Regions from separate parts of the Homo sapiens genome. Here regions 2, 3, 4, 5 and 6 are each linked to region 1. The links are contacts of gene promoters, found by promoter capture Hi-C in blood cells and fetal thymus (Javierre and others, 2016). All regions are on one chromosome and are shown on one strand. The core of a region is centred on a gene start or on the middle of the fragment in contact, and the rest is flanking DNA. Distances in the headings are between cores, read along the strand shown. Region 1 holds the start of CHRM3-AS1 (CHRM3 antisense RNA 1). Region 2 overlaps RYR2 (ryanodine receptor 2). Region 3 has its middle 28 kb from the start of ZP4. Region 4 has its middle 46 kb from the start of ZP4. Region 5 overlaps RYR2 (ryanodine receptor 2). Region 6 overlaps RYR2 (ryanodine receptor 2).

Region 1 (4,632 bases), core at 1,274-3,773:
AGTTCTGGGTTGGCCCAGGAGATGTATAAACTTACCAAATTACTTGACTATTTTGAGACGACCTTTCTTCATCTATAAAACTAGAATACTATCGCCTGATCTGTAGATTATGGAGAAGATAAGAAGCATTGTGGTGTTGTAGGCTAATACTCTGAAGTATTAACGGGGATCTTGCCTCCCTTCTCCCAATGCTAACTTTTTGTGTTCTCAGGGTTGTGTTGTTACTTTAGAAACACAGGGAGAAAGAAACCAGTGTTTCCTCATTTTTTGCTTTTTAAAGTAGATTTTAAATACTCTGGTAGAGAGAAGGGATTTAAAGATAAGGGCTTTGAAACTGCAAACACTTGGTCTTCTGAGCATCAATGCATGGTATACTGACCTACACACTAGGAAAATAAGAAAAATCTCCCCTTGCCACATCCAGAGTGAATAAATTGATAATAAGTACTACAAAAAGGTGATTTGGAAGTATTAATTAAAACTGAAAAGGCATGTACACCATGAACTAGCAATCCAACTGCTAGGTATCTACCCTCTAGAAATTATTGCATTCGTATGTACACAAGGAGACACGCCCAAGGCTATTAACTGAAGCATTTATTTTTATGACAAAAATGAGGAAAATCTATAAGACCATTCGTTTTGAAATGAATTCAAAAATGAGGTCATTCATAAAAGGGAATACTATGCAGCAGATAAAAGCAATCAACTAGATATATATTAACTTAGAACCATCTAAAAATACTTTGTTAAGTAAGAAAGGCAAGTTGTGGGATGACAAATACAACACGATAAAATTTAGTTTACAATAAAACACAGCAATAGTATACTAAAGATTGTACATGCCTGTATACTAAAGGTTGTATACAGACATATAGACAGATACCACCTTTAGTATATTAATATAATTAAAATTGTCATAGAAGGATAGAAAGATTTACATGCAAATCATATATTAGCAGTGGTATTTTGGAGGAGGAAGATAAAATTAGGATTGAGGGTGATGGACAAAGAAGACTTCAGCTCAATCTGTAATGTCCCGAATGAGGAAAAAAAAAAAAATCCCAAAGTTTCCGAAGCCAGAAGGAAGTGAAGAAGAGAGTTAAAAGGGGGCAGATATTGGTGATGGTTGCCAAGGAGGGCTTGGAATCTTGCCTTACACTCTGCTGTTGCTTTTAAATGCGGAGAAGGTTGGAGGAAAAAGAGGTCGCATCTGATAATATTGATCAGACTCAAAGAAGATGCGTGCCTCATGCCCTCCTGTCTGGTGCCCAGAGGTGGCAGCTGCTCAGAGGTCACTAGGTCACCATGGCAGAAGCACCGATGACCTGAATGCCTGTGGTAATGAATTCTTCCTTAGTCTTGCCTAAGACGTAAACTCAGCTGGGCGAACACCTTGATTTCAGTGTTGAGACCCTGAACAGGGAACCTTGTTGTAAGCTGCTAAGTTTGTGGTGATTTGCTATGCAGAATGGGGCCACAACAGGCAGCTTCGAGGCAAGTTATACAAAAATGAAATGACTGATCTTGCTCGCCTGAATACGATGGATTAAAAATATTATACACACTTTACATGTAAATGAGCAATGTATTGTCTCACACATAAGAAATCCTAGTTCTACTTGGGTTGTGGATTTTCTCCCCTCATTGCTGTAGGGGCCTTTCTTGCCTTCGTCCCTCCAAGGGAATATTCAGCACCTGCCATACCTCTTCTGAGCACACTGTCTTTTCTCGACAGCCCAGGTGAGGTACATTCCTGGTGCTCCCCAATCTATTCATATCAAGGCTGTACCCAGCTTTATCAAGGAAGACAATGTCCCTATAGGGCCAGGAAACAAGATCCCTCCCACCTTCTTTCAGACATTTTCTATGAACTTCTCCGAGGCCTTGGGGCCACGGCCTCATTAAAAGGACTGTTCTCTGGAGGCTCAGCAACGGAGGTCCTATCGGTACCCAGGATGACAACAGGAGAAAGTGATCAGCCGGTCATAAGGATTTCAAAAAAAAAAAAAAAAAAGAATATCTAAAAGTACTTATTAGAAATGAGAGTCACCAAATGTTTTACTTCAGGTATATCTATTATTTCATAGGTAATATGTAACTTCCTGAGAATCAAGACTGTAGGTCAGACCCAAATGAAGCAGTGATAACCCCGGGCTAAGAGCCCTCAGTTTACGGTGATTTTCTGAGTAGAAGGTATCATTCCTATGTTTAATATTCCTTCCTCATCCTGACTCAACAGCTATTCCATAGCATTAGGATATTTTGAGTCAAGGAAGTTCACAGTCTACACTCATTGAATTGAATGATATTGGTGAGGGGACCTACAGGAAGTCTTTCCTTGTAATGCTCAGGAATAAACAGGTGGTGGGAACAGAGATCCTTGTCAGCCCAGTGACCTTCGCACTTTATAAGTAATCCCAGGCAAGAGTTCTAGGAATGCAGCCTGCATGAGGGCTCAGGGCATGGTCAGATAGGGGCAGACCAGGGGCAGGTGCCTGGCTCCTCTCTGGGGTCAGAGCAGGCTCCCTCCCTGCCAGGTTGTGGGTGCAACATTCAGGGAATGGTTACTGAAGTGTTCCAGGCACCAGAGCTCAGGCAAGAAGTGGAAAACTGCGCAAGATCCTGCACGTGGGTACCATCAGTGCCTTTGTGGGGAAGTTACATCTGTGTGTATGTATATATACTTAGTATATATATACGATATACTTAGTGTACTTATATCGTGTATATATACTATGTACTTAGTATACTTACTTATATACAATGTACATATACTTAGTGTATATATACATTGCATGTTGAACTTACTATATATATACACACACACTACACACACACACTAATTGGTCCGCTAATTGGCTGTTGCATTTTGAACTTGGTATGTGTGTATATATACATGTGTGTGAGTATATATACACACATATATACGTATGTATATACATATCATATACATACATGTGTATAGATATGTGTGTATATATGTATATGTGTGTATATGTATATGTGTTTATATATGTATATATGTATTTATGTATATATACACACACACTAAATTCAATAGATATATATGCGTGTGTGTATATACACACACACACACACACACACACACACACACTGAGTTCAAAATGCAAGAGCCAATTAGTGGGCCAATATGAGAATTAAAAAAGAAAAAAATGTACAGCAAATTGAATAGGACGTATCAGAATGCATACCACATAATGACAATCAATATCACTTCATTAAATTTTTGCTCGACATACACACACGTATAAAATTATGTCTATAGTCATGATGTACGTACAATGTATTTTGTGTTGAATAATGTTGGAAAGCCACTGCAGTGGATATTTTGACATCTTTTATTAATATTTAAAAGAAGAGGGTGAAACAAAAAATGTGAAAAAAGACAAAAAAGTTTGACAGTACTGAATTTAGGAGAAATTGAAGGTTAGTTCTAGGAAATTTGCCTTCTTCCCCCTAGTTATGGCAAAAAATAACTTTTCTGGGGTTATAAGTCTGTGAAATATATAGGTAAATTTAAAAAATTTAAAAATGTGTAAATATCCAGTGTGAAATACATGTGAGATTGCTTACAGAAACGGACAAGGCCAATATACATGTGAGGCTTCTGGTTATAATGAATTCCAAGGAGATAAACTCATTTCATGTCCTCTGAGCCAACCGGGCAGTACCTACTTGGGAAAAATGTTTGAGGGCTCTCGATTTTTAAACCTGCTGAACCAATTAAAAGCGTATAAATTTTTCTAGAAGTCTAAATTAATTCTACGTCTATAATAATAATTATTTTTTTAAGTGATGATATGGGAAAAACCCAAAATATCTTTGCAACATACAGCCGTGCGTTTTTTCTCAGACCAACTATTTAGTGCCTCTTCCCTATTTGTAATCCAGTCTGCGTCATTTTTCAGGGCTTGTTTTGGGTCTCTGACTGCCTTCTTTGCTTAGAGTGTCTCTGTTTTCTGTCATAATTCACTATAGCATTCAACGGCTAAAATGACTTTTAAAACTACCTGGTGAATGGCAATACCACATCAAACCACTAGGTGGCAAAGCAGACTCGGAGAACGACCTCTCTGCCAGCAGGCGCTGAAGCAGCTACCCGTTCCCCATGCTGGTGACCAGGAACTTCAGCTTAGCTCAGTCATGCAGTTCGCGGAGGATATCAAACAGAGTCAACAAAGCTTTGCAATCAAACGTGTCTTTAAAGGGAATCCAACTTGTGAACCTGGCTCTTGATATTCATTTGAAGCTGCAAGGGGGAAAAGATGTTACCTAATATGGAGCAATGGCTCTTATTGTGAACAAAACATCTCTGAACACCAAAACCGGAATAAAATTCTATTTAAAAAGGGGAATTTTTTTTTTAGAAAGTTGATTTATCTTGCTGCCTCCTCCCTCGGTTGCCACTTTTCATGGGTTTTTACTTGATTTGATAAATATGGACCTTGACAACAACAATGCAGGGTGCTTGGAAAAGGATTTGCATCAGGACCTCTTACGTGTAGCAGTAGCTGCTGAAATAACAGTTTTTCCTCAAAAACAAAAACCTAGATTCGACTGATGTTTCCTTGCATTAGCACTCGCAAGTCTAAAACCTTTTGTCATTAG
Region 2 (4,729 bases), core at 725-3,224, 2.1 Mb after region 1:
AAACCCCATCTCGACTAAAAATACAAAAATTAGCCGGGTGTGGTGGCAGGCGCCTGGAATCCCAGCCACTCGGGAGACTGAGGCAGGAGAATTGCTTGAACTGGGCAGCTGAGGTTGCAGTGAGCTGAGATCGCGCTACTGCACTCCAGCCTGGGTGACGGAGTGAGACTCCATCTCAAAAATTAAAAAAAAAAAATGGAGACATTAATAGGCAGATAAATTATACCTCAATATCTTATTCTACATCTGAATCACATCAAATAAAAATCTAAACTGTGCTTTAAGAAAAATGTAGAGGATTCCAAGTAATATTACCTTTCTTTTAACAAATTTGTCCCAGTAGTTGTTGGGAAATGACCTAAAATATACAAAAGCATAGAAGTAAATAGTATTATTTTTAATGACAAATAATAACATATCATTTGGGATATATGGCATACTTAAAATAATATGTAAACATATATCCTGCCACGTAAACTTACAATGAATTTGGCTAACATCACATAATTTCCTGCATCATAGGTATTTGAATATTATTTTAAATATTAACATGTAAATATATACAAAAGATTATAAGCTGATACTTTAATGGAGAAGAATATGAGCATATTTATTAGGTAGCATTGTTATATTTATTTGTTTATAACATATCAGTACATAGACCTGTTTATCAATTGCCTTTAAAAATTAAAGTATCTAGAAACCTGTCATTGTTTTTCCCATGAAGAAAAAAATCTCTTTCCCACCACTTATCCTCACAGAAACTTCGAGCATAGCAGCAAAGCACAACTCTAGCGTCTTCACTAATACATAGAGAGTTTGCCTAAAGGGACTGACTTGCTTAGAAATTAGTATTAATGGTAGAATTGCTAAACAAAACATTTAGCATTTAGGATAAACATGTATCATGTATAAATAATCTCCATTTGACAACTCGGAACCCATTAGCAAATGACTTTTTAATTAGCAAAACTAATCACAATTTTAAAAAGATTTCACTCGAATAGTAAATATAAACTATTACAACTATTGCACTAATTCTTTTTACAGTGAAAAATTATACTTTTGTGATGGACTTATACTCAGAACAGCAGCTAGTAGTTTGGGTCTTGATCTCACAGGGCTAAATGTTTATTGGATAGAAAAAGCATTTGTTTTTCTGTCTTACATTTTACACCGTGTCCTAATATTTAGTTAGTTTCATGCTAGGGTGCTTGATGGTACTGAAAGTTGATAACTCAGATATATTCAAGGTGTAAAATTCAATGCATTTTCCTTTAATGCTACAACTTTTTCGTTAATGAATAATTTTTGCCTCTGCTTTTGGATGAGATAACCCTGCCTGCAGGTCATGCACTTCCTGCTACACACATCCCTGAACGCTGAGTAATGGATGTGAAGTTCCATCAGTGCTGTGGAAATGAACTCTAAGCCATTTTTAATTAAGGAATTCAGAACTCAGAGGGCAAAAATTGAGGACATCCACCATTAAGAGTTGGACAGCACTGAGTCTTTAGATTTTTCTTGGCTGAATATATAACTATTATTCACCTCTGCTAAACTTTTGACAAATCTGCAGGAACTCCAACCAAATATTTTCATGTCTGAAATTTTTGAGTGCAGAAAGTCTCATATAATTATTTACTCACTGTGTGTTGATTACGAGTCTATCCCACTGGCCTTTAATATCATCTTCTGAAGGCTGTTCTGTAATATAAAGCCCATCAAATTCCAATTTCCGTGCCACTTCCTTTTCTCGCTTAAAAATAACCAATGGGACCTACATAGGAAAAATAAATACGTTAAAATTAGTTTAGATTTACTGGCATATCTTGTGGTCACTATCTTTACAAAACAGCTTTTGGAAAGAAATATTTCCTGTGTACTTCTAGGAAGGTAAAAATGGAATGAAAATGAATCAGCTATATTCAAGCAGGAAGAAGCATCTAGAAGGTTTTGGAAAAACAGAAGATAGAATAGATATTACATATATGCATATGTTTTTAAACACATAGGGTCTTATAGATAATTACACTAGTGAAATCATTTTTAAACTTCAAAGATGAAAAGATGATTATGCAAAATCATTTTGTTTACATATATCTCTCAACATGAATGAATGAAATAAAATTTAGCAATTGCAGCAATGTTCCCAAATGCATGCTACTAAAGTGCAGTTTTATTTGAGAAACCTCTTTAATAATTTCATGCTCAGCATCACCACATACTATTTTGAGATAAATTTTAATTTCGACATCAGCAAAAATCTGTCAGTTTGTCAAAATATTTCCAGAACATAATGATTTTCTAGAACATAATGATTCTCTTTTTACACGGACAGACTTTACACAAGGCACAGATAGCAGATAGACACTGATATTCTGGAAATAGCCAAGAATATGCACTCCCATAAAACAGAATAAACGGGAGGAAAGGAGTTCCTGAATAACTCTTTACATTCTAGTCTTTTACTCTGAGCCCTGGTTTTTCACACGTCTTCTGCAAGATTTATAACCAGAGGCAGAGGACAGTGAAAGTGAAATAAAGGCATTACAGTAAAAAAGCACCTTGCTAGGAAAAGATAAAGAGGTTTGGACAGGTAATGGGCAGCCCTGAGCACTCAGAGAGATTATCTTGGGTTCTATTCACCAAATTATATTGTTCCCTTGGCAGGCCTCTGGGGATAAAGCTGCATTATTTTCTGGGTGAAGTGTGACAAATCATGAGGCATTTCTGCCAAGAATAGCAGTAGATACTTCCCTCATAATAAAACAATAAAATGACTCCCAGGATTGACACAATATATTTCTATAAGTCTTAATACACCAAGTATCACTGCATTACCATGAGACATAGTGGGTGGGTGAGCTCACTTCTGTAGGGCCAAGTTATAGGCGAAATTCTCTATGTGAATAATTATCAGTATATGAAAGAAAGCTACTTTAAGACAGCTCATGGCCATAGCCCCTTCCCAGGGCAGACTAGTCAATGTAGACATAAAAAGGCCAGGCTCCAATGCCCCAGGCCAGGACAGCCCTGAAGGGGCATCCCAGCTTTGGAGACGGCACCTGCTGTGTCTGTCTACAGTAGCCCAGCTTTCCCCTCTGTCCCATCCTTCCTCCATTTGCCCCATGCATGTTGATTCATGGAGCATTCCCTCAGAAACTTTGTGCACAAAGTTTCCAGCTCAGAATCTGCTTCCCCAGAAGTCCAGCCTGCAAAACACACACACACACACACACACACACGCACACACACACACACGCACACACACACACACACACACACACACACACAGGTACCTTGGTGCCTTACTATCTTACTTTCAAGCAGTAGTATCCAATGATGCAGAAGAAAGAAATGACCGTGTGCAGAATAGCTAAGATACGCAACGTGGGCTCCATGTAGCCGCTGCTCTCCTCTAGTACATAGTGAACTGCGATGATTCTATGGGAGCTGCTGTCCAGGCTTGTCACTTTGGCATTTTCACTTGAACTTCTCGTGGGGAGCTCCTTTCCTTCAACCACAGAAGAAGTGGAGACCTGATTCAAAGCATTTAAAGTAGAGTCAGTTTGCTGCATCTAAGATACCATTGCAAGCAAAAGACAAAAGAAATACAGCCTTTTCAGCAAATAGTTGGATGTGAAGTCACTGCATAATGAAAGGACTAATAGCAAAGGCTAAAAACGATAGCTTTTCAAAAACCAAAGGCAAGTAATGAACATACTTTTAAAATTCATTCTTATTCAACCAAAAATTCTGAGGATTCCAATGCATGCTAAAAAATTAGATGGCTAAGCTCTCTTCTCAATTACAAAAGAATGTAATATAATACGGTATGCCACACCCAGGCATAGTCACAAATAAGATATTCAGCTAAATTAGGCTGGGAATACTGTGGGGAAGCCCTCTGCTAAATCAAATGCCCTTCAGTTGAGGCATTTCTCACTTCTCAGGAACAAATCTATCTTGCCTTCCTAGATAACAGTGATATCAGTGCCTAGGCACCAGTATTTCATAATAGGTTTAGACATGTTCACTAGCAGTAGTAGATACGTTCATCGTGAAATCTTTACATTCATTTCTATTTGGAGTTTTATACCAGTAATTAAAACAGTGAGATGTACGTACCTTATAAAAGAGCAAGATGAAATTGATAGCAAATGCGACAAATAAGGCTAACATTCTCATGTTGTAAAAGTTGCGAGCAAAATAGTTCTGAGGGTGAAAAACATTATGAAAAGGTCACTGAATCAACAGGCTTGAAACCTGCAGTCAATTTAAATAAAGCATTCATTCATTTACCCCAAACAATTGATCGCAAGCCTACTGTTTCAAGCACCATTCTTGGTGCTGCAGACCTAAAAGTGAGGGAGAACATTTCTGCCACCATGGAGGAGACAAAGAATAAAAAAGCATACCCGCAAGTGAAAAACATAATTTCAGAGAATGTTAAATGCTAAGAAGAAAACTACATCGGGTTAGGAGCTTAGGGAATAGGGGTGCTATTTTAGATGGTGTTGGTCTGGGAAGGTTTATCTCAGGAGGTAAGCTTTGAACAGAGAGGCCTGAATGCACAAGCGGGGAGCAAGTCATACAAATATTTGGGGAAAGAAAGAGTGTGTCAAAGAGAGGAGCAACAAGGGCAGAGGCCCTGAGTTAGGAGTGATGTTGGTGTGTTTGAGAAATAGAAGGAAACACAGTGAGAAGAAGGGAGACTGATGTGTGG
Region 3 (4,463 bases), core at 1,332-3,831, 2.0 Mb after region 1:
CTGCAGAGGGGAAGGAACTGGCCCCCGGGCTCTGTCCCCTCTCTCTAACTCACTCATCTGGTAAGCCTCTCCTTTTCCCCAGACAGCAGGAGATGGGGAGAGGACCAGGAGTGTGGCCCCAAAAGAAGTGCATCAGAGGTGGAAACATGGGCCAGCGACTGGTGCCCAGCCTCCTGTGGGAGGCAGGGGAGGGAGGGGAAGCTTTCCACCTGAAGTAGCACTGGCTGGCACACAAGCTGTACCGTGCTTAAAGCAGTATTGGAGAACAGGAAGAGGTCGGGATGTGGGAAGTGGCCCCAGGTTGTCAGAGACTCAGAGGAACTCACAGAGAGCTGTCTGTGTGACACATTTATTTTTGATCCAGCCCTTGGGTTCATGGTTCCTGTCTGAACCTTATGGCTGGAAGCAGAAACCAAGGAGCAGCTTTCACCAGGCACTCCACACGCGCAGGGCCCGGCCGTGTCACTTGAACGCTCTGATGACAAATCCACGTGGCTTTGGTTAATTGGGAACCGCGCGGAGGCCAGCTCCGCTTTGGCAAATGGCCAGTACACAGTGGCCTTGGCCCGGAGGTCAGCGCTCTCCCGGACACGTGCGCAGGTCAGGCAGTGGTGAGGCAGCGCCCCCACGTGGCGCTTGGAGGCAGAGCATCTGGGGAAGCTCTCCTCGATACCCTGCAGGAGACACGCCATGGCCCCCCAGAAATATTTGGGTGGGAGGATATTTTGCAGAAAACAGAGACCCTGAATTATTCACTTAGGGGCAAACACCTGTAAAATGTGGATTTTAACTATTAACGAAACCCCATTAGGTTAGTAAGCCCTGTTAAAAAGTTAGATTCATCTTAAAACTGAGGTATCCATCCACTACTGTATTTTATTTTTCTCTCAAAAACTACAGTGACAGATTTTTTTGTTTCATTTTGGTTTTTCTAACAAACTTTCAGAAAGCAAATTAATACTTGAAAATTTCTCAGAAACCAGCTCTGTGACTTTAGACAGCAACATTTCAAAATAGCTTCCATCTCATCTTTAAAATGATGAGATTAAACTCCATGATTCCTAATTTCCTTCCAGCTCAAAAATATATTGACTTCTAGGGTGCATAACATGCTTTTCTTTATAATTTATATTACAATATCATAATTTCATTAAAAGTGGTCTAGATGACAGGAAAGAGAGTTCCACTCATTCTGGCTTATGCTAAGGGAGCGCATTTCCAGGAAATAAATAAGAGAATCTTGTGAGCGGCCATAAACACATGCTGAAATACAGCCAAGCCCCAAAGAGAAAACCCAAGGCTGCTTCCTGCCTCTTTCTCATGGGCCGTGAGGGTCCCTCACAGCTTCTGCTCTTGTGAGCACGTCTGACCCCATTCTCCCCGATCTGCAGCAGCCAGCTCTCCCTTTTAACACATACCAGGACTCCTGTTTTCTCATAGCCCCAGTTTGCAGGTGGCCCATAGTTACCACCGGGGCCCTGAGTCTGTGTAATGAAGTAAGCTCAGCTCCCATAGCCAATCCCCTCTCAATTTCCCAGTTCCAAAATCCAAAGAGAGAAATATGATTGGTGTAGCTCACCTATGGAGTCAGGTTTCACAGTATAGATCATTAGCAGCCTGTGATTGGCTGTCCTGGGGGCCGGTAACTGCCTGTGGTCCAATCAGGTGGGAGGGTAAGGTCATGTAACACAAAACATGGCCACTTAATTGTGGGTGGGGCACATTCTGTTAGTAAGGGTTAACATTAGACTGTAAAGACCTGTGCTGTCAAATAAGACAGTCACTAGCCATGTGTAGAATTTGAATTCATATTAATTGGAATAAAATTTAAAAATCAGTTCTAGTTTACACTAGCCACACTTCCTGCTCAGTAGCTATATGTGTGTCTAGTAGCTACTACATTAAGAACGTTCCCATCACTGGAGAAAGTTCTGGTGGACATCACTGACCTCTAGACAATAGAGCTATCTAGGGGAGTTATTTAATGTAGAAGATGATGATAACAGAGAATTATTTTACTATCTTGTTTTCTATCTTGGTGTCACAACTTAGATTCTTAGAGTCCTTGGAGAAGAATAAGAGGCAAAGCAGATGTAATTTTTCTCATGTACTAGATGCTTATTGAGTGTCCTAAGGCAGCCATAGGGACATTCTATCAGCTATCACTTTCTCAAACTGCGGCCTGGGTCACTGACTCTGGATCGGCAAGATCTGCAGAAACACAATGGGAAAAATTAGAATATACATTTTTTAAATTCATGTGACCCTTTCACATAAGGCACAAATAGAGTTAAAGCTGTGGGATTTGGTACCTGTTCAAACGGGGGTTTCATTGTCTCCTCCACTAAGGTGACTCTCAAAAAGTAGTCTTGAAATAGGAATGGTATAGGTGCTGGAGGCACAGTATTCAGTCACAGCAGAATAAGAAAAGCAGTACATAGGTCAGGGCCCTATTGCCTCTAATGTCCTTGCTCTTATTTTTTGGCCAAAGCGTAACCGGGGTACCATTCACTGAGTCCTGAAGTGGTAGGGGTGATGGTGATATACCTCACTAGCTGGTTCCTATGGAGTGACTTTGCTCTGTGACCTGCTTCTTCATCCTCAGGCCTGCTTTGGCTGCTGTCTGTTTACCAGCCTGGCTCTCCAGCCTCATGTCTTTCCCAGGAACCCCTGTACATAGAGAAGACAGTTTCCCCTCAGAAGAACTAAAAAAATCACATGAGCCTGGACCTGCTAGGGGCTATCACTACACTATTTAAAGACAACCTGATAGAAGTGCATCGAATTGAGGCACGACAGAGAAAGAGGGGAGGAGGGAGACGGAGGGAGAGAAGGAGGAAGTAGTGAGTAGAGAGATGCATTACAGTGACTTCATTTGTACTCTTGGATTCAGCGATGCCGGAAGTGGCACCTAGGACTTCCAGGTTACGTCAGCCAGTACACTTCCTTTTACTCGAAGGGAGTCTGAGCTAGGTTTCACTTGCAGCCAAGGGAATCTTCATTTCTTCACATCCTGAAACCAGCTAATGACAGCAGCAAGGAAAATGAACTAATAATTTATACTAAGTTATAAATTACTCATGACTTAATATTTCCTACTCCACGATTAATTCAGGTTTTGGAAAGCACTCTGAAGACTCAATGCCCCTCTTTCTATAATGCTCTCTCTGTAATATTTTGAAGGCTATTTCTCCCTTTATTTCTCTTTCAATAGAGTTTAATTTTTAGAGAAGTTTTAGGTTTACAAAAAGGATGAGCAGAAAGTACAGAGTTTCCATATACTCCTCCTCCTCTCCCTGCTCTCCAGTTTCCCATAGCATTAACATCTTGCATTGCTGTGGTACATGTGCTACAATTGGAACATTATTGATATATTTTTATTAACTAAAGTTTATGGTTTCCATTGGGGTTCACTCTTTGTGTTGTAATTTCTATGGGTTTTGACAAATGAATATTGTCATATATCCATTACAGTATCATACAGAAAAGTCGTTCTGCCCTAAAAATTGCTTGTCCTCTGCTATTCATCTCCTCCCACACACCCCTAATCCCTGACAACCACCGATCTTTTTTACTGTCTCTATCTATAGTTTTGCCTTTCCTAGAATGGCATATGTTAGAATCATACAGTATATAGCCTTTTCAGATTGGCTCCTTTCACTTCGGAATATGCATTTAAGTTTCCTTCATGTCTTTTCGTGGTTTGATTATTCATTTCTTTGAATTGCTGAATAAGGTTCCATTCCCTGGATGTACCACGGTTTGTTTATCCATTCACCTACTGAAGGACATCTTGGTTGTTTCAATATGATGCAATTATGAATAAAGCTATAGATTGGATGACCTCTTTCTGTTATGCCCTGTATGCCCTGCCTGTCCTATTTCGAAAGCTGTTTTTCGTTTTCCGAGAGTCACTCAGATGTCATCTGCCTAAGGAAGGCTTCTCATCTCCTCCAGAAGGTGTTCTTCGCACCTTGCTGTCTTCCTTCCCTGTAAGAGCACTTCTTACATGTTCTGTAATCGCATTATCACATGGTTGTGTGGTTTCTTTGTGTCTGTTCCCCACCAGAGTGAATTCTTTCAGAATGTCTTACCTCTAGTGAGTTACTTAACCTCCTTTTGCCTCAGTTTCCTTGTCTGTAAAATGAAGATAATTTTTATTGTGAGAATTAAAGAAGTATATTTATATACACACATACCCCATCTAGCATAAATGTATATATTCTAAATATATATGTATATTTAGGATAGTACCTGGCACACAGTATACACTATATACATATTATTCTTTTTATTGCTATTAATATTAATCTTTGTACCCATAGCAACCAGCATGTAGATGCCACTTAGTAAATACATTTTGGGCCTGGTGCGGTGCCTCACGCCTGTAATCTCAGCACTTTGGGAGGCCCAGGCAGGTGGATTGCCTGAGCTCAGGAGTTCGTGACCAGCCTGGGCAACAC
Region 4 (4,711 bases), core at 718-3,217, 2.1 Mb after region 1:
CTAATGTTAGTTTCTCTGTTGCTATCATAACAAATCCCCACAAATGTGGCATCTTAACAATCTAATCCCAGCACTCTGGGAGGCTGAGGTGGGTAAATCACGAGGTCAGGAGTTCGAGACCAGCCTGGCCAAGATGGTGAAACCCCGTCTCTACTAAAAATATAAAAATTAGCTGGGCGTGGTGGTGGACACCTGTAATCCCAGCTACTTGGGAGGCTGAGGCAGGAGAGTTACTTGAACCCAGGAGGCAGAGGTTGCAGTGAGCCAAGATTGCACCACTGCACTCCAGCCTGGGCAGCAGAGCGAGACTCTGTCTCAAACAAAACAAAACAAACAAAAAACAACAGTCAACAATCATTTATTAAGCAAAAAACATTTATTCTCTCATAGATTGGTAGGTCAGAATTCTGGACCCAGAGTGACAGCTGGTTCTGTGACTTTGTTTTACAAGATTGGACTCAAGGAATGGCAGGACTGTGCTCCTTTTTGAGGCTCTGGGGATAAACGCACTTCCAACTAACTCATTCAGGACATCAGCAGGATTTTAGTTCCATGCAACTTCAGAGGTTTCTGCTTCCTTGCTGGCTACTGGCCAGGGTCATTCTCAGCTTCTAGAGGCCACCCGATTCTCTGCCTTCCGACTCCCTCCATCTCCAAAGCCAACAGTGGCTCCAGTTCTTTCTACACTTTGACTCTCTAACATCAATCTCTCTCTCTCTCTCTTTTTTTTTTTCCTGCATTTAGCCTGAGAAAACTTTTGTAGGTGCTTCCTTTCCTGGCCTCAGGTAGTTTCCCTACGTGCTTCTGGGGCCAGTATTCAGCTGAAGACTAGAGGGGGACCCTCGGCCCATCACAGGGGTCTCTCTCCATTTCTCCTCCCTGGTTCTTTCCCCCATAGAACTCTAACCACCTTGGCATCCCCAGACTCCCAGCAACGCCTCTTTAACGCAGGGTATTATTGCTGTTGTAGTTGTTTCGTGTAAGAGAAACTAATGGGCATGAATAATCTATTTATATTAATTTCAAATCAAGATAGTAAAAATTTACATTCTTATAGAGAATTTAGTGACATCAAAGAATATATCTTCGAATTCGGTTTGAGGAAGCAGTGACCTATATGAAGAAATCCAAAATCTTCAGGTCTCATGTGGGTTGAACTGTATCCTTCTAACAGAAGATATGTTGGTGCCCTAGCCCTGAGTACGTATGTCAGAATGTGGCTTTTTTTTGAGATGGGGTCTTCACAGAGGTAATCAAGTTAAAATGAGGTTATTATGGTGGGCTCTAATCCAATATGACTGGTGGCCTTATAATAAAGGGGAAACATGGACACAGGCAGATACAGAGGGAGAATGAGAATACCACATGGAGATGAGGGCAGGGATCTACAAGCCAAGGAATGCCACCAAAAGAGAGGTGCCAATAAGCCACCAAAAGAGAGGAAAGAGGCATGGAACAGATGCCCCCTCATAGCCTCAGGAAGAATCAATGCTACCAACACCTTGATTTCAGACTCCTAGCCTCTAGAACTGTGAAACAATAAAGGAACTGTGAAACCACAGATTAATGGTAGTTACAGGAAATAACATGAATAAACTGGGCATTCAACATGTTTCTAAATCAACAAACTATAACTATATCAGTTTTCCAAAATTTATTGATAATTTTAACAAAAAATATTACCAATGCCACAATGGAAATCTTTTGGAACTTGACAAAACGATTTAAAGTGTTATCTGAAAAGAGGAGCATTAGAAAAGTCAAGAGTTTTTTTTGGTGAAAGGATGATGGATGGAGAATTTGATGTATTATATATTAAAACACATTGTGAAATTTTAGTTACTTAAAGGCATGGTCCTAATGTATCTGTTCAAACATCTTTATTGCAAGTAATAACTCAGTTCAAACTAGCTTAAGCTATCATGAAAATGACTTTTTAAAAAACTGTTATTTTAGGTTTGGGGGTACATGTGAAGGTTTGTTATATAGCTAAACTCATGTCATAGGGGTTTGTTGTACAGATTATTTTGTCACCCAGGTATTAAACCCAGTACCCAATAGTTATCTTTTCTGCTGCTCTCCCTCCTCCCACCTTCCACCCTCAAGTAAACCCCAGGGTCTGCTGTTTCCTTCTTTGTGTTCATGAGTTCTCATCATTTAGCTCCCACTTATAAGTGAGAACATCAGTGTTTGGTTTTCTGTTCCTGCATTAATTTGCTAAGGATAATAGCCTCCAGCTCTATCCATGTTCCTGCAAAAGACATGATCTCATTCTTATGCCTGCATAGTATTCCATGGTGTATATGTACCACATATTCTTTATCCAGTCTACCATTGATAGGCATTTAGGTTGATTCCATGTCTTTTCTATTGTGAATAGTGCTGCAATGAACATTTGCATGTGCGTGTCTTTATGGTAGAATGGTTTCTATTCCTCTGGGTATATAATTTATATTCCTCTGGGTATCTACCCAGTAATAGCATTGCTGGGTCAAATGGTAGTTCTGCTTTTATCTCTTTGAGGAGTCACCCTACTGCTTTCCACAATGGTTGAACTAATTTATACTCTCACCAATGGTGCATAAACATTCCTTTATCTCTGCACCCTTGCCAGCATCTATTTTTTTTTTCGACTTTTCAATAATGGTCATTCTGACTGGTGTGTGATGGTATCTCATTATGGTTCTGATTTGCATTAAATCAGTGATATTGAGCTTTTCTCATATTCTTGTTGGCTACATGTATGTCTTTTTTTGAAAAGTGTTTTCGTGTCCCTTGCCCACTTTTTAATGGGGTTGTTTGTTTTCCTCTTGTAAATGCAAGCTCTTTATAGAATGCTGGATATTAGACCTTTTACAGATGCATAGTTTGCAAAATTTTTCTCCCATTCTGTAGGTTGTCTCTTCACTCTACTGATAATTTCCTTTGCTGTGCAGAAGCTCTTTAGTTTAATTAGATCCCATTTGTCAATTTTTGCTTTTGCTGCCATTGCTTTTAGTGTCTTTGTCATGAAATCTTTGTTCATTCCTATGTCCAGAATGGCATTGCCTAAGTTGCCTTCCAGGGTTTCTCTAGTTTTAGGTTTTACATTTAAATCTTTAATCTACCTTGAGTTAATTTTTGTATGTGGTGTAAGGGGTCTAGTTTCAATCTTCTGCATATGGCTAGCCAGTTATCCTAGAACCATTTATTGAATAGGGAATCCTTCCCCTGTTGCTTGTTTTTGTCAGGTTTGTCGAAGATCAGATAGCTATAAGTGTACGGCCTTATTTCTGGGTTCTTTACTCTGTTCCATTGGTGTACGTGTCTATTTTTGTACCAGTGTACCATGCTGTTGGTTACTGTAGCCCTATTTGTATAGTTAGAAGTTGGGTAGCATGATGCCACCAGCTTTTTTTTTTTTCTTTTTTGAGATGGAGTCTCACTCTGTCACTCAGGCTGGAATGCAATGGTGCGATCACAGCCCCCTGCAACCTCTGCCTCCTGGGTTCAAGCAATTCTCCTGCCTCAGCCTCCCTAGTAGCTGGAATTATAGGTGCCTGCCAACACGCCCAGCTATTTTTTTTTTTTTTTTGTATTTTTAGTAGAGATGGGCCTCCCAAAGTGCTGGAATTACAGGTGTGAGCCACCGCACCCGGCCTCTTTTTTTCTTTTTGCTTAGGATTACCTTGGCTATTTGAGCTCTTTTATTTTATTCCATATGAATTTTAAAATATTTTTTTCTAGTTCTGTGAAGAATATCATTGGTAGTTTAATAGGACTAGCATTGAATCTATAAATTGCTTTGGGCAGTATGGTCATTTTAGCAATATTGATTCTTCCTATCCATGAACATGGGATGTTTTACTATTTGTTTGTGTCATCTCTGATGTCTTTAAGCAGTGTTTTTGTTGTTGTTGTTGCTGTTTGTTTGTTTGAGATGGAGTCTTGCTCAGTCACCTAGGCTGGAGTGCAGTGGCATGATCTCGGTTCACTGCAGCCCCCACCTACCAGGTTGAAGCCATTCTCCTGGCTCAGCCTCCCGAGTAGCTGGGACTACAGATGCACGCCACCATGCCTGGCTAATTTTTGTATTTTTAGTAGAGATGGGGTTTCACCATGTTGGCCAGGCTGGTGTTGAACTCCTGCCTTCAGGTGATCCACCCGCCTTGGCATCCCAAAGTGCTGGGATTACAGGCATGAGCCACTGTGCCTGGCCTAAGCAGTGTTCTGTAGATCTCCTGGTAGAGATCTTTTGCCCCCGTAGGTCTCCTTGTAGAGATTTTTTGCCCCGCCCCTGGTTAGCTGTATTCCCAAGTATTTTATATTTGGGTGTGTATATGGTAATTGTGAACAGGATTGAATTCCTGATTTGGCTCTCCACTTGACTGTTGTTGGTATATAGATATGTTAGTAATTTTTACACATTGATTTTATATCCTGAGACTTTGCTAAAGTTGTTTATCAGATTAATGAGCCTGTGGGCTGAGACTATGGGGTTTTCTAGATATAGAATCCAGTCATTTGCAAACAGGGATAATTTGACTTCCTCTCTTCTATTTGGATGCCCTTTGTTTCTTTCTCTTGCATGATTGCCCTGGTCAGGATTTCCACTACTGTTTAATAGGAGTGATGAGAGAGGGTGAGAGAGGGCATCCTTGTCTTGTGCTTGTTTTCAAGGGGAATGCTTCCAGCGTTTGCCCATTCATTATGATTTTGGCTGTGAGTTTGT
Region 5 (4,080 bases), core at 1,478-3,977, 2.1 Mb after region 1:
GCCTTTAGGAATACATAACCTAAGTAAACTTTCTGCCCTGAGGCTGGTAGATATTGAGATTTATAAATTTTGTCGGGTGTTTGTCCTAGAATAGAACTGAATTTCCTGGAAGTCACTGCAGGCAATGTACCTGCTACTGCTACCTTCTGCACCTCCCTTGTGCCTTGTAGCCTTTCCTGGCCTCCCACTCCCCTCCTGCCTTCAGGGTCACAGGGTAGAAAGGCTCTGAGCACAGCTGATATTAAAGGCAGCGCATGGAAGAGGAGATGAAGGATCCTTAACACATCTTCAGCCCTAGGCCTGGAATGAATGAATAGGCGTGGGAGGAGGGGGTAAAGTGTTGCATGTTAGTGACTCTGATGGAGAGTCGTCACTAGTAACGGGTCAGTCTTATTGCATTGAATCCAGTTTTCTTACAGTTGCTGTAAGTTAAAAAAAAAAAAAAAACTTATACATTTTTCTCTGCTTTGTGGTGCGAGAAAAGCAGCAAAAGGAAGGATAGGAGATGGTTTTAAGAAGTGGGCAGGTGGGCCAAATCAGGGGGTGATAGAAAGGCAGTCAGGGAGGAGGCTCCAGGCAAGGTGCATGAATTATTTGTCCAGCAATTAATCGGAGAAGAAGACTAGCAAATGTAAGTAAGTATTACATCTCAGTCATGACAACTTATGATGACTAAAATGGATCTCAAGTATTAAGGCACTTGATCTATGTCCGTATCAATATCTTCCACCCTGTGGTATCATGTGACATTAATAAGTTATTTCTATTTCCCTGTCTAGTAGCCAGCCACCTAAAGCAACTTCTCAATTGCAATATTTGAGCAGTGATGTTGAATCCACTATTTTTGTATAGTATATTAAATGTTCTGTATGCGATAGGAATACTGATCCACAAGGTTTTCCAAAACTTCTGGAATTTCTGGGGCACTCTTTTCTTGGAGGATCCCAGAAAAAAGAACGAGCTTAGCAGAATTTCTAGAAAGGTGCTTACCATGCAAATTCCATGAAGGCAGGGACTGTACTTACTCAAGCCTTATCCTTAACGAGTGCCTGGTATAAAAATAGCACTAAAATTAATGACAGAAGCATGAATGAAGTTACTATCTGTGAGGTAGTGTAACTTAGAGTACTGGTTGAAGAGTGTCACCTCTTCCTAACTGTGTGACTTATGACAAGTTACTCAAACTCTTGGTAGCTCAGTTTCCTCATCTGTAAAATGGGAATGATAGCAGTGCCAACCTGCAGCAGAAAGTTGGTAGGAGACTACTGAGTTAATATTTGTAAAGCTCTTGAGACAATGCCTGGGACAATAGCATTTATAGCCAAGTGCTATATAAGCACTTGACAAATAAAAAAAATCTACAAGACTGTGGATTTGTAACTGGGATGGCATTTTCTTCCAGTTGAGGAATTAAGTTTATGGATGAACAACCATGAACATCAGAGTCCTTTCAGCTCTGATACTCCGTGTCCTCCAAGTAGGTCACTAGCACGTGGAAACCACAAAGTCACATGTGAAACACCTCAGAACGGCAATCGTGACAGGAAATGTTGAAAATTACAGATGATTTTCACATGAACAATATGATTTGCTCTGCTGTCAACTATGTGTGGAAGGATGAGTTGAAAGCTTTTTCCCCCTGCATTCTCCATCAAAAGCATCCCTTTTTGAAGTTCCAAGCCTTCGAAAATTTAATCTTGACCTAAGAAAAGTGAATATTTTTATGTCAGCAAGCTATTATGTATCCCCAATTTTTAACTAACCTGCAATTCATTTGAGAGTTATTTATTCTTAAGATTTTTTTTATTAAAAAGAAAGTTGGGAAGAGAACAAAATGCTTAATATTGAAAAGCTAAAGAATGACAATCTTGTCTGAAGCTCTCTAAATTAGTAAATAAAAGAATACTTGTTTAAAGGAGAGAAAGGATGGGCAATTCTATATTAATGATCATTTATGATAAAGTTTTAAATACAGAAAAACTTCTTTACACAAATAAGAGATTTGGGCTATAAATAAATGGCTCAAGAACAGGCAGTGGATCAAAATGTAACATCGAGTTTCAGCAGAGCTTCCCTCAACCTCTGTCCTTTAATTCCCTCAGGTCAGCCACCTGTATGTTCTGTTCTCTCCTCCCTGCCAGGGAACAGTCACTGCATGTAGTTATACTAATTGTGGGAATAACTGAAGGCAGATTATCTTCTATAACATGGTGGGGAAAAAACTGTCTTAGGCTTTTAAAAATAAAAAAATACCTATGGTAAAAAGAAATAGTATCAATAATTCAGACAGGAGTAAAGTCTATAAAATGAAAAGCAAACAAGTTTCTTTCCCCTGTGATCTATGGTCCTACCCCTGTAGGAATCCTTGTTCACAGTGTCCTATGAATAAATCCCTCCAGAAAAATGTTATGCATATTCCAGCATATCAAAAATATGAATTATTGTGTATATATAATTTCACACAATTAGGATCCTATCATTACTGATCCAAGATCTTGTTTTTTTAAATTAAATGTAATTTAATTAAAATGTAATTTATATATCTCTCCATATCTGTATACATGAATTTCTCTCATTTTCAAACAGATGCATACTTGTTATGGATTTATCGTAACTGACTTAATCAGGACACTACTAATGATCATTTAGATTATTCCTAGCTTGTGAGGGCAGCTAATGTTCTTGAACATACAGAGGCTTGTTTGTGAGTAAACCTTTAGGTAAAGTACTAGCAGTGGAATTAATAGGTCAAAGGATATATATACTTAAAAATTTGATAGGTGTCACAAAACTTCTCTAAAATTGTTGTCAATTCAACCTCCCAACCAGAGTCATGAAAATGCTGATTTTTCCCATCAATTCACCAACTGTGGGTTTTAACAAACGTGAATACTTTGCAAACCTGATAGGTAAAAAGTGTTTTTTTCATTGTTTTAATTTGCATTTCTTTCACTTTGACAGAGGCTGAGCGTCTTTTCAAATTTGCAAGCCCACTGAATTAATTTTACCGTGAATTGTCTGGTCATGTGACTTACTTGTTCTTCTATTGGCTTATTTCTTATTGATGTGATAAGGACTTGGTAGATTAAGGAAAATGGCCCTTTGTTATGGTGTTAAATATATCTTTCCCAGTTTACCATTTGCCTTTACGACTTTATTTATAGTTGCTCTTTTTTCAAATAATGTTTATGCTTTCATAGATCCTGAGTTTTATGTCATACTCAGACCGTTCTCCATGTAAAAATGAGTATTACTATTATTTAAGGCATCAAATTCTGTCTTGTGATTATTCCTTCTTATTGCATTAAAATATGCTCATTTCAGAATTTATTTTTATTTAAAAAGCAAGGTTGGCATCCATTTTTATCATTTCCCCCCAAATAGCTTGTCCATGGTACTAATGTCATTTATTAAATTATTTTTCATTTCATTACTTCAAAAGATCTTTATCATCTTTTAATTTCCGTGAGTATTTGCATCTGTTTCTGAACTACTCTGTCCCACTGAGTTGTCATTCTTTAGTATAAAATTATCTTAATTGTTAGTCTTTGTAATACTGGTCATTCTCATCAATCTTTTGGGCTATTTTTTCTAGAGTAATTTATGTATCATTATATCAGCCTCTATACCTACATCCCCAACACAAATGATGTAGGTATTTTCGTGAGGAGCTTACTGAAGGATACATCTCTTTCCAGCTAGTGATATATATTTTGTCTCATGTTCCCCTTCCTGATCTAAGATCTCATGTATGATTACCTCTCAGCTGCCAATATTAGAGAGACAGGTTGTAGAACAGCGATATAAAGCAATATGAAAGCTTTAACAGCTGTTGATTTTTGAAAACCAAGACCAAAAAAGACATTTAAGCCAAGATACTCAATATAAAAGCAAAAACCAGTAGTTCTAGGAAGAGATATATTTTTGAAATTTAGTAATTTCAGTTAAAGTCATTAAGGTGAACAAAAAACTAAGGCTTCCAAATGTTCTCTGGGAAATAGTTTTACCCGTTGTCCTGGGATATGTGAACAACAGGCTTAAGTGATGACATTACTCCTTCGAGTTCTAAGTACATTACTC
Region 6 (4,351 bases), core at 1-2,500, 2.1 Mb after region 1:
AAGCTGAGTCATGAATGGAGAAGCTTACCTCCATGTCTTCTTTGACTTGTTCCTGTTGGTCTCTTAGTTCTCCAAAAGCATCAATAATTAGACCTGGTGTTAAATAAAAACACAATTTAATCTTTATCAAGCAATGAATAATTCAGTTCCTTGGCTAATCCCCCCAGGGAAAGGGGAGATGTACAACTACCTTGCAAAATGCTCAGAACATGGTAAACGTGACTACATATCCGATACTCCTAGGAGAAAGGAGGCGGTGTTCTGTCTTTGGGGACAGAAGTATGTGCAGTTACTGGGACATACACTCACTGAAAAGAGTGTTTTAAAATGAAGTGACAGCAGGAAAAACCTTTTGTTAACTTGGCATATACAGATGTTATTACATACTTCATGCCGAAAAAGAGCAGCTGAGATTTATAAGTACAGAAAACTCCACTAATCAGATTTTTCAAGTACTAATGTAGAAATGAAACATCACCACTTAAACGAAGAAATCTGCCTCAAGTCTTTTTTTTTTTTTTTTTTTTTTTTTTTTTTGAGACGGAGTCTCATTCTGTCACCCAGGCTGGAGTGCAGTGGCACAATCTCGGCTCACTGCAAGCTCCGCCTCCCGGGTTCATGCCATTCTCCTGCTTCAGCCTCCCCAGCAGCTGGGACTACAGGCACACACTGCCACACCTGGCTAATTTTTGTATTTTTAGGAGAGACAGGGTTTCACCGTGTTAGCCAGGATGGTCTCGATCTCCTGGCCTTGTGATCCGCCTGCCTCGGCCTCCCAAAGTGCTGGGATTACAGGCGTGAGCCACCATGCCCAGTCAAGTCATTTTTTTTTTTTTTTTTTTTTTTGAGACAGTCTTGCTCTGTCACCCAGGCTGGAGTGCGGTGGTGCAATCACAGCTCACTGCAGCCTCAACCTCCTGGGCTCAAGCGATCCTCCTGCCTCAGCGTCCCAAGTAGCTGGGATTACAGGCGCACACCACCACACCCTGATAATTTCTGTTTGTACAGACAGGGTTTCGTCTTGTTGACCAGGCTGGTCTCAAACTCCTGGGCTCAAGCGATCCTCTCGCCTCAGCTTCCCAAAGTGGTAGGATTACAGGCATGAGCCATGGTGCCAGGCCCCAAATCACTTTTTTCACAAGTCCCTTATAAGTAAGCTTCCATAATTTCATTGACTGTGACAATCAGAAACACTGTGTTGAGCTGTTTTAAGCTCCTTTTCCCTCCTGAGACCTGCTGGCTTCACACTTTCTTCGAAGTTATAACTTTGCCCTCTTAGAAAACACGTTATTTTTACACTCAATAAGAGCACAATGAATGAATTATGAGTCCCTTAAGCTTGTCCATGGTATTTGACTAAAAAATAGTGTCATTTGATGTCTGTGGAACTTAAAAGAGATTGTCACATTTACAGACATTTAATTCAAGCCAGGATACATGTGTTAAGCGGAAAAGATAACATGACTTTTCTGAGAGAGAAAAACACCACACTCCAAGTTGCCCGGAAGTAAAAGGAAGAGCTAGTGGGTCAATACAGCACCGTGGTTGAAGGGGTCTGGATGCAGATTGCCTGGGTATAGATGGATTCCAGCCCTGTTTAGCTGTGCACTTTGGCCAAGTTCCTTAGACTTATTGTGGCTCAGTTACTTCATGCATAAAATAAGAGCACCATTCTCATAAGGTTGGTGAAATGGTAAAATTAGTTAATACATGTGCTGGGCAGATAGTAGGTATTCAACAATGATACTATTAATAGCTTTATAATTATTTATAAAGCACTGACTATGCATCAGGTATTAGACTGGGTACTTGAATGTATGTCCTTTTTTTATTATACTTTAAGTTCTGGGGTACACGTGCAGAACGTGCAGGTTTGTTACACAGGTATACACGTGCTATGGTGGTTTTTGCTGTACCCATCAACTTGTCATCTACATTAGGTATTTTTCCTAATGCTATCCCAACCCCTCAACAGGCTCTGGTGTGTGATGCCCCCCAATGTGTTACCATTGTTTAACTCCCACTTATGAGTGAGAACATGTGGCGTTTGGTTTTCTGTTCTTGTGTTAGTTTGCTGAGAATGATGGTTTCCAGCTTCATCCACGTCCCTGCAAAGGACATGAAATCATCCTTTTTTTATGGCTGCATAGTATTCCATGGTACATACGTGGCACTTTTTAAAATCTAGTCTATCATTGATGGGCATTTGGGTTGGTTCCAAGTCTTTGCTATTGTGAACAGTGCCCCAATAAACATACGTGTGCATGTGTCTTTATAGTAGAATGATTTATAATTCTTTGGATATATCCCCAGTAATAAGATTGCTGGGTCAAATGGTATTTCTAGTTCTAGATCCTTGAGGGATCACCACAGTGTCTTTTACAATGGTTGAACTAATTTACACTCCCACAAACACTGTAAAAGTGTTCCTATTTCTCCATATCCTCTCCAGCATCTGTTCTTTCCTGACTTTTTAATGATCGCCATTCTAATTGGCATGAGATGGTATCTCACTGTGGTTTTGATTTGCATTTCTTCAATGACCAGTGATGACCTATTTTTCATATGTTTGTTGGCTGCATAAATGTCGTCTTTTGAGAAGTGTCTGTTCATATCCTTCACCCACTTTTTGATGGGGTTGTTTGTTTTATTCTTATGAAGTTGTTTAAGTTCTTTGTAGATTCTGGATATTAGCTGTATATCAGATGGATAGACAGCAAAAAATTTTCTCCCATTCTGTAGGTTGCCTGTTCACTCTGATGATAGTTTCTTTTGCTAGGCAGAAGCTCTTTAGTTTAATTAGATCCCATTTGTCAGTTTTGGCTTTTGTTGCCATTGCTTTTGGTGTTTTAGTCATGAAGTCTTTGCCCATGCCTATGTCCTGAATGGTATTTGCCTAGGTTTTTTTCTGGAGTTTTCATGGTTTTAGGTCTTATGTTTAAGTCTTTAATCGATCTTGAGTCAATTTTTGTATAAGGTGTAATGAAGGGATCCAGTTTCAGCTTTCTGCATATGGCTAGCCAGTTTTCTCAACACAATTTATTAAATAGGGAATCTTTTCCCCAGTGCTTCTTTTTGTCAGGTTTGTCAAAGATCAGATAGTTGTAGATGTGTGGTGTTATTTCTGAGGCCTCTGTTTTGTTCCATTGGTCTATATATCTGTTTTCATACCAATACCATACTCTTTTTGTTACTGTAGCCTTGTAGTATAGTCTGAAGTCAGGTAGTGTGATGCCTCCAGCTTTGTTCTTTCTGCTTAGGATTGTCTGGGCTATGCGGGCTCTTTTTTGGTTCCACATGAAATTTAAAGTAGTTTTTTCCAATTCTGTGAAGAAAGTCAATGGTAGCTTGATGGGGATAGCATTGAATCTATAAATTACTTTGGGCAGTATGGCCATTTTCACAATATTGATTCTTCCTATCCATGAGCATGGAATGTTTTTCCATTTGTTTGTGTTCTCTCTTATTTCCTCAAGTGGTAGTTTGTAGTTCTCCTTGAAGAGGTCCTTCACATCCCTTGAAAGTTGTATTCCTAGGTATTCTCTTTATAGCAATTGTGAATGGGTGTTCACTCACAATTTGGCTGTTTGTCTATTATTGGTGTATAGGAATGCTTGTGATTTTTGCACATTGATTTTGTATCCTGAGACTTTGCTGAAGTTGCTTATCAGTATAAGGAAATTTGGGGCTGAGATGATGGGGTTTTCTAAATATACAATCATGTCATCTGCAGACAATTCGACTTCCTTTCTTCCTAATTGAATACCCTTTATTTCTTTGTTTTGCCTGATTGCCCTGGCCAGGACTTCCAACACCATGTTGAATAGGAGTGGTGAGAGAGGGCATTCTTGTCTTGTGCCAGTTTTCAAAGGGAATGCTTCCAGTTTTTGGCCATTCAGTATGATATTGGCTGTGGGTTTGTCATATATAGCTCTTATTATTTTCAGATACCTTCCATCAATACCTAGGTTTATTGAGAGTTTTTAGCATGAAGGGCTGTTGAATTTTGTCGAAGGCCTTTTCTGCATGTATTGAGATAATCATGTGGTTTTTGTCATTGGTTCTGTTTATGTGATGGATTACATTTATTGATTTGCGTATGTTGAACCAGCCTTGCATCCCAGGGATGAAGCCTACTTGATCATGGTGGATAAGCTTTTCGAGGTGCTGCTGGATTTGGTTTGCCAGTAATTTATTGAGGATTTTCGCATCGATGTTCATCAGGGATATTGGCCTGAAATTTTCTTTTTTTGTTGTGTCTCTGCCGGGTTTTGGTATCAGGATGATTCTGGCCTCATAATATGAGTTAGGGAGAATTCCCTCTTTTTCTATTGTTGGGAATAGTTTCAAA

What was found. Contacts are between HindIII fragments. The CHiCAGO score rates a contact against its expected background, and 5 or more counts as called.
Region 2: a contact is called between a fragment that was not itself captured here and the fragment with the promoter of CHRM3-AS1 in region 1, in 3 of 17 cell types (total B cells, endothelial precursors and total CD4 T cells). The highest score is 9.1, in total B cells.
Region 3: a fragment that was not itself captured here is called in contact with the fragment with the promoter of CHRM3-AS1 in region 1 in 7 of 17 cell types (megakaryocytes, M0 macrophages, M2 macrophages and 4 more); the score reaches 15.4 in megakaryocytes.
Region 4: a contact is called between a fragment that was not itself captured here and the fragment with the promoter of CHRM3-AS1 in region 1, in 1 of 17 cell types (M2 macrophages). The highest score is 5.1, in M2 macrophages.
Region 5: a fragment that was not itself captured here is called in contact with the fragment with the promoter of CHRM3-AS1 in region 1 in 13 of 17 cell types (naive CD8 T cells, non-activated CD4 T cells, naive B cells and 10 more); the score reaches 33.6 in naive CD8 T cells.
Region 6: a contact is called between a fragment that was not itself captured here and the fragment with the promoter of CHRM3-AS1 in region 1, in 1 of 17 cell types (endothelial precursors). The highest score is 7.8, in endothelial precursors.

The regions. Positions count from the first base shown.
Region 1 is chr1:239,897,763-239,902,394 of GRCh38, reverse strand. It overlaps CHRM3-AS1 (CHRM3 antisense RNA 1), which reads left to right and starts at 2,523. Exons shown (of 2, transcript NR_046582.1): 1 at 2,523-2,631; 2 at 4,003-4,376. All of the region lies in intron 6 of CHRM3 (cholinergic receptor muscarinic 3), which reads right to left. The HindIII fragment of the contact is 7,774 bases long and covers 1-4,207 here.
Region 2 is chr1:237,790,918-237,795,646 of GRCh38, reverse strand. RYR2 (ryanodine receptor 2) reads right to left here. Exons shown (of 105, transcript NM_001035.3): 93 at 4,132-4,218; 94 at 3,324-3,542; 95 at 1,650-1,780; 96 at 316-358. Among named protein-coding and RNA genes, the nearest start is that of ZP4, 98 kb to the left of the region's middle. The HindIII fragment of the contact is 5,160 bases long and covers 1-4,554 here.
Region 3 is chr1:237,860,607-237,865,069 of GRCh38, reverse strand. It overlaps the pseudogene LOC100130331. Among named protein-coding and RNA genes, the nearest start is that of ZP4, 28 kb to the left of the region's middle. The HindIII fragment of the contact is 4,755 bases long and covers 204-4,463 here.
Region 4 is chr1:237,842,873-237,847,583 of GRCh38, reverse strand. No RefSeq gene overlaps it. Among named protein-coding and RNA genes, the nearest start is that of ZP4, 46 kb to the left of the region's middle. The HindIII fragment of the contact is 5,945 bases long and covers 1-4,711 here.
Region 5 is chr1:237,809,262-237,813,341 of GRCh38, reverse strand. All of the region lies in intron 100 of RYR2 (ryanodine receptor 2), which reads right to left. Among named protein-coding and RNA genes, the nearest start is that of ZP4, 80 kb to the left of the region's middle. The HindIII fragment of the contact is 2,191 bases long and covers 1,632-3,822 here.
Region 6 is chr1:237,824,123-237,828,473 of GRCh38, reverse strand. It overlaps RYR2 (ryanodine receptor 2), which reads right to left. Exons shown (of 105, transcript NM_001035.3): 102 at 29-93. Among named protein-coding and RNA genes, the nearest start is that of ZP4, 65 kb to the left of the region's middle. The HindIII fragment of the contact is 181 bases long and covers 1,160-1,340 here.